Regions from separate parts of the Homo sapiens genome. Here region 2 is linked to region 1. Evidence: promoter capture Hi-C in human tissues and cell types (Jung and others, 2019). All regions are on one chromosome and are shown on one strand. Each heading gives the region's core, a stretch centred on a gene start or on the middle of the fragment in contact. The rest is flanking DNA. Distances are from core to core; before and after follow the strand shown.

What was found. Contacts are between HindIII fragments. The study calls those that stand out against the background at their distance.
Region 2: a fragment that was not itself captured here is called in contact with the fragment with the promoter of PHACTR1 in region 1 in 3 of the 25 tissues and cell types used here (dorsolateral prefrontal cortex, hippocampus and spleen).

Annotation. Positions count from the first base shown.
Region 1 is chr6:12,715,215-12,718,368 of GRCh38, reverse strand. It overlaps PHACTR1 (phosphatase and actin regulator 1), which reads right to left and starts at 1,602. Exons shown (of 15, transcript NM_030948.6): 1 at 1,473-1,602; 2 at 626-860. The region is part of intron 1 of LOC107984015 (a long non-coding RNA gene); the gene reads left to right. The HindIII fragment of the contact is 3,467 bases long and covers 1-1,950 here.
Region 2 is chr6:12,800,556-12,803,644 of GRCh38, reverse strand. All of the region lies in intron 4 of PHACTR1 (phosphatase and actin regulator 1), which reads right to left. Among named protein-coding and RNA genes, the nearest start is that of PHACTR1, 85 kb to the right of the region's middle. The HindIII fragment of the contact is 4,540 bases long and covers 1-3,089 here.

The DNA.
Region 1 (3,154 bases), core at 353-2,852:
TATTTGATAAATAGCGTCATTAAGTGTCAGCCGTTGTGAGTGTTGATCCTCAGCTCATCCTGGGACTTTCGGATTCCCCTGGAGCAGGGAAAATTGCCTGGGAATCCGAGCCTCCACTCATAGATGCCGTGCGTTTATGACACACACTGACATATTTGCTGTACAAATGCTTTGAATTCCTTCCTTTCCGGCGATTCCCTTCAGCACATTTTATAAAGTGCTAGAGGATCGTCACCTGCCTGTGCCTGGCAGGGGCTGATTTTTGAGAAACAATTGTGGTTTGTAGAGCAGCAAGAATGATTGCAGCATTACAGTGATCCCTATATTATCATACACTAGCCTGTCACAAAGCTAATATACTTCCCCAGAAAACATTCAGCCTGTTGGGTTCTTTTTTCAAGCCTATGTAGCCTTTCCCTGATACTCACACAAATGAATTATCTCTATTTCTGCAGAATATTTTTTTGGAAAGAATTAACAAGACAAAGTCATTAAAACCAAGCTTGGAAGTCTAATCCAATTGGTTTCTCTTTCTAACAGTATGTATTTTAATTTAAGAAACCAAGTCCGGTAAGACAAAACTTTTAAAAATACCCAAAGGTACCCCAATAGCAAATATACTTACTGCAAAAAATAAAAATCAAAGGCTATCTGTCAGCGGTAAAACAAGAGCCGTTCCAGCCAGAGTGTCTTTGATCTTGCTAAATATTCCCGGTGAAAGTAAACGATTTTGATTGTTTGATTAGAACAGTGATGAATAATGCATACAGTCCACTGGACTTCCTTTATCAGATAAAATGGCCAGAGCACGTTACCTTAGCAACGGAAGGTGACGCCAGCCTCAGCCTCTGCACCCTCCCCTGCGAAGGGAGAAAATTACCAGTTTCCCGTGTAAAACTTTGGCAGAAAATCATCAAATCCACATGCATACATCATGCAGGGCTATTCCCCAGCCCCCTATCTCTTAGGCAGAGAAGTGCCATAGTCATTAAAAAAAAAACAAAACAGATTTATGTCTTCATTGTTTATTTTCATAATCCCAAATCTTAGTTTGATTTGCAGCTACAAAAGAATAGAATATGAAATGATTAAAAATTTAATATATAGAAAAGTTGTCTAGAAATTTTTGTGGGGGCACCAGTTATTACCCTAATGCTGGCCTAAGAGTGGCAGGGAATGGGGGAGTTTAGGGAAAGGCCATTTTAGCTTAACATACGTTAGACATTCCCCTGTTATAATTAATACACAGAACAGCCACCGGCATCTAGGCTGAAAATAACTCTTCCCTTCTGCAAATCAGTCACTGGAAGAAGCTTAAAAAGCTGTCTGAAATTTCCCAGATTCTGAAAGACATATTATAGCATAGATTTTGTGGGAGATCCCCACTCCCCCCACAACCCCCATCCCCGGCAAAGGAAAATTAGCCAAAAAGATATTTGAAAGGAAGAGTCTGGAAGTTAGCGGATACTCACCGGCACTTGTTGACCCCTTTCAACAGGACACGGTAGAGTACAAAACAAAGCAGTGCGACGCTTCTGAGCCCGCAAGCACAAATGAACAGCTTCTAATTTTCCCTTCAATCTCGCTTCAAGAGCACTGAGCAGAGGGAAGTGATGGATTTGCCCATTTATACTGTGATGAAATGCAACCCTTAAGAAGAGATCTGAGTGGAGCTGCTCTTTAGAACACATTAGACTGCTAATTTAAGAAAATTGAAAGGTTTTGTTTTACTGTCTTTTATGTGTTCTTCTCTGCTACCCCCTCAATTTAATTTGCATTTAAAATTATTCTCATGTCTCCTCAGCTCTCCAAGGTGTGGAGTACTTTCTAATCATGAAGGCTGCTCCAGTAGGGTTTGGTGCAACACCACTTTTATGCTGAGCTGCAAAACAAGGCAGGTAGTCATAATTGTGAGCTGTTTTCTGGAGCGAAATACAGAGGGCACGTTTGATGTCACCCCTTCCCTCTTGCCTGGCTTTCTTCCTTTCCTTGCTTCTGATTGCCTGGTCAAATATCCAGCGCAGATCATGCCAGTCTGCCTAAATGCATTTCTCTCTGTCTGAATGTAACAAAATAATACCAACAACAAAAATAAACTTTGGCTAGTATCTCAAGTTATTCTGGTTTAATATTCTTCCTACCAAACCTCAGTAATGACTTTTAGGCACAGTACTTTGAGATCTTCATGCAGGGCATAGTGATAGCCAAATGCAAGCCCTACTGTGGGTTTTCCACAACCTCTTGCACCCTTTGTTGACCAAGCAGAATTGCTCATTAGTATGGTGTGGTGTACAGTGGGTCAGCTTGTTAAGAAAAGAGCATTTACATTTGATAAGCCTCGGAAGGAAGACCATCAACACCACCCCTGTCCCCCCACTCCCTATACACAGCTCGGCTGGCTGCCCTTGAAACAAACCTGAAAATCCTCTGCTGTTTGTTTTGTGGGGTCTCCCTCTCCCACCCGATCAGAACAGATCAGACACCAAGCCGGTGCTGCAGACAGTTAAGCCTCATGAAAAAGGAAGCTGAAACTACCAATCATATGCCCTTGTAGGAAAGTCAACTATGGACTCTGAATTCTGAAAGCTTTGCTCCAACCCAAGGACTGACTTCTTTAAGGTTACTTTTCTATTCAGCACCCACTGGAGACATGCTGAACACTTGACATTTATAAGAGGAGAAAGCTGTCTTCTGGTTCCTTTTACTTACTGTGAGGTGTGGGCGACAGGTTCTGAACTCGTTATTGTAATTCTACTGAAATTGTAATGACTCATAGATGAGAGAAAGAGAGAGAGAGAGAGTATAAGTCTATGCTGCTGACCAAACCTTTAGGTGAGTGCAAATGAATGTGTGATTGAAGAAAGAGATGCTAAACTGGAAATGTGAAAAATAGAGTTGATTCCCAGGGGGTAGGTGGTGGATTTGGAAGTCAGTCATTTCTGGAGAGTTGACCAAGAAAGAGAAATTTAAAATACTTTACAAAGTGAACAAATAATATGAAAGGGTCGTAATTTAAGAAAACTCAGGAGGGAAAATTTCAACTTAAAGAAATGTATTTGGGGCCGGGCACAGAGGCTCATGTCTGTAATCCCAGCACTATGGGAAGTCAAGGTGGGTGGATCACCTGAGGTTAGGAGTTCAAGACCAGCCTGGC
Region 2 (3,089 bases), core at 144-2,643, 85 kb before region 1:
AAAAAGAAATAGTTGCATTCCTGATATGTGTGGCTTTGTTTGGTAAGAATAAACAGGAATGTTTCTTTGTCCTATTTATTCAAGTACATTTTACACTCTAAGAGTGCAAGAAGTATAGTGTAAGGTGAGGCTGCTTGAGAGTAGCATGGTTTTGGCACGTTTTTGTGACCCTTAATTTCCTCTTCTTCCTTTCGGGAGGCCCAATCTGCTGTAGAGTGTTCTTTAGTCTTCCTCACCTTCCCTAATATGTCTCCTCCTCCTTTTCTGTGAGGGGCTGTGGACTCAGTCAGAGGACTGGAGCAGGTGCAAGGATGAGAGGGGAAGAAGTGAAAAAGAGAGACCACCAATCTCAGTCCTGCCACAGCCTCCTCTCAGCTTTTGGCTCAAGGGTGCCAGAGATCTGTGAATTATTGAACGCAGCGGGGTTGACACATAGAACTTTCAAACAAGAGAACCTGTCAAGAAGTGACACAATAATAGGACCAAGTAGAAGCAGTGCACAGTTCTTGAGCAGTGCACAGATAAGACAGTGTGGCTTGTCAGCAGATCACAGTTTAACACACAAGCTTTGAAAGGGGAAAAGTTATGGCAGCCTGGAATTTTAACACACGTGTTCACCTTCATCATATCATGGAAGGTGGCTCCTCTACAAAGCCACATATATTAGCTATCTTCACATAGGGTTTTTATCTTGCCACTTTTGTCATTCAAGAGTAAGGAATACACTGAATTGATTTTCTTTTAAAATGGGAAACCAAACTCAAAACTTGCAGTCACTTTTAAAACGTCTTCTCTCGGAATAAAATGATAGAGACGAGAATCTTGGGTGCCAAGGGGCTTTCCATCAAGATCGTAAACACTGAGCTTAGAGAGGTAATCCATTCCTATGGAGTTAAGCTTAAAATTTTATATTTTATAGATTCCAAATTCACAGTTGTAAAAACATTTTAGCATTTAAGAAATCAGAATGTATCTTGTACTTGATGGGATAAAAAAGCATTGCGTCATAGTTTAATTGGTTTTCTCTTTTTTGGTGGCAGAGAAAATAATGGTACATCCTACGGTTGATGGCATTTTAGATTCAGTATAATAAAGAAAATACATTCCACATTTCTTAGAATCACTCTGATCTGGCAGGTCATCTCTAATTGCTCCTCTTCTGATACTTGTATATACATCATTTTTCTTGTTTTAATTTGTTCCTGTTCTGCTTTTATTTTAGCCTAATTATATATTCCATTTGCCTGCACACAAAAATGACTAATTTTGTGTGTAGCTTTTTGTTCCTAAGACTGTTCCTTTTTCTTTTACGTTATAGTAAATTGCCAATGAGGAGTATGAACTTATAAGAACTAAGAAATAATTGTTTTATTCAATAAGTTATTATGTTGGAAAAAGAAAAGCATAGGTGGAAGTCAGATCTACTCATCACCTTTGGCATTAACTGGCTATTAATGCCAGTTATATTTATATGCCCTTTAAGTCATAGGAAAATTGAGCTACATATTATTTTATATAATAAAGTACATTTATTATATAAAATAAAATTATTTTATATAATATGTAGCTCAATTTTCCTATGACTTAAAGGGCATATAAATTCAAAGGGTTATGTAAGGTTTAATGATCACACCAAACCTATGCAATTTTCTAAATTTGAATCAGATGAGGCCACCAATATAAGTAATGGTAAACAAGGTCATCAAAAGACAATGTCTGACAATTTATTTAGTCACTCCTCGGAAACCTAATTCCTGATTCCTATGAGTAAAGGCATTAGCTGAAATGTTGCAAGAGGACCTCAAATTCTAGGAATCTAACATATTGGAGAAGAACTGAGGCAGAGATTCTTCTTTGCTCAATAAAGCTATATTAAATAATTCTCATTTGCAGACAGTTTTTCTTGCTTTTTATGTCAAGCTTTCTCAGCTTAATTTAGCCTCATTAATTCCAACCAAATCTCCAGATGATCTCTAAGATGCCTTACAGCTTTAAAATCCCAAGATTCTACTAAATGCTTCCTTCCTAAACTTCTACAGACTTCTTAGCTCCTTCTCTGCAATTAATTCCTCCCCCTTCTGCCATCCATACCCCGTCATAGTCTATCAGCCAAGCAGTGAGAATATTCTGTTCTTTTTTATTTTTATTCTTATGTGTGAACCCTTATAATCACTTTCATGGCCCCTTATGAACTTGCTCTAGTTTGCCTACATTCTTTTGATAATGAGATGGCCAAGCCATACATAGTTGGGTAGTGAAGTACTGACAACATTTTGCTCAAGCAAGTATGTGGCAACAATGCTGCTGGGCAGACTAGGAGGCACGTGGCCACTGTTGACCATCTCACTAACTTAACACGCACAATGAGGCTTTATCAACAAGTTAGATGGTGTTCTTCTATGATTCATTTGCAACGACCTTTTCAGCCTTTTTATAATACATTCCCCCTTCTACATTATTATCAAAATATATTAACATGCTCTAAATCTTTGTCCAAGTTACTTCACCAATACAAATGATTAATTTAAGGCACATATCATTACATCTATTTTCAGCATTATTATCTTGAGAACAAAAATCAAAGGCCCTAAAGAATCCCAGTAAATAATTACCATATACTGTACTGTTTTCCCAATAACTTCATGTTATTTAAAAAATTATTAAACTCAAAAATGTATTGGCATAATTCACCATTTAGAAAATGAACTAATCAAATTGGCTTTTTATCTTCCTTCTTTTTTTTTTCTTTTTCTTTTGAGACAGGGTCTCACTGTGACACCCAGGCTGGAGTACAGTGGCAGGATCAGGGCTCACTGTAGCCTTGGACCTCCAGGGCTCAGGTGATCCTCCGACCTCAGCCTCCCAAAGAGCTGGGACTACAGGCACATGCTACCAGTCTGTGCTAAATTTTATTTTACTTTTGTAGAGCTGGGGTTTCACTATGTTGCCCAGGCTGGTCTTGAACTCCTGTCCTCAAGCAATCTGTCCTCCTTGGCCTCCCATAGTACTGGGATTACAGGTATGAGGCACGGCACCTGGCTTCAACTTCCAAACTTTCTTAACTCAATATTTTCTAGATCGAATAGCTC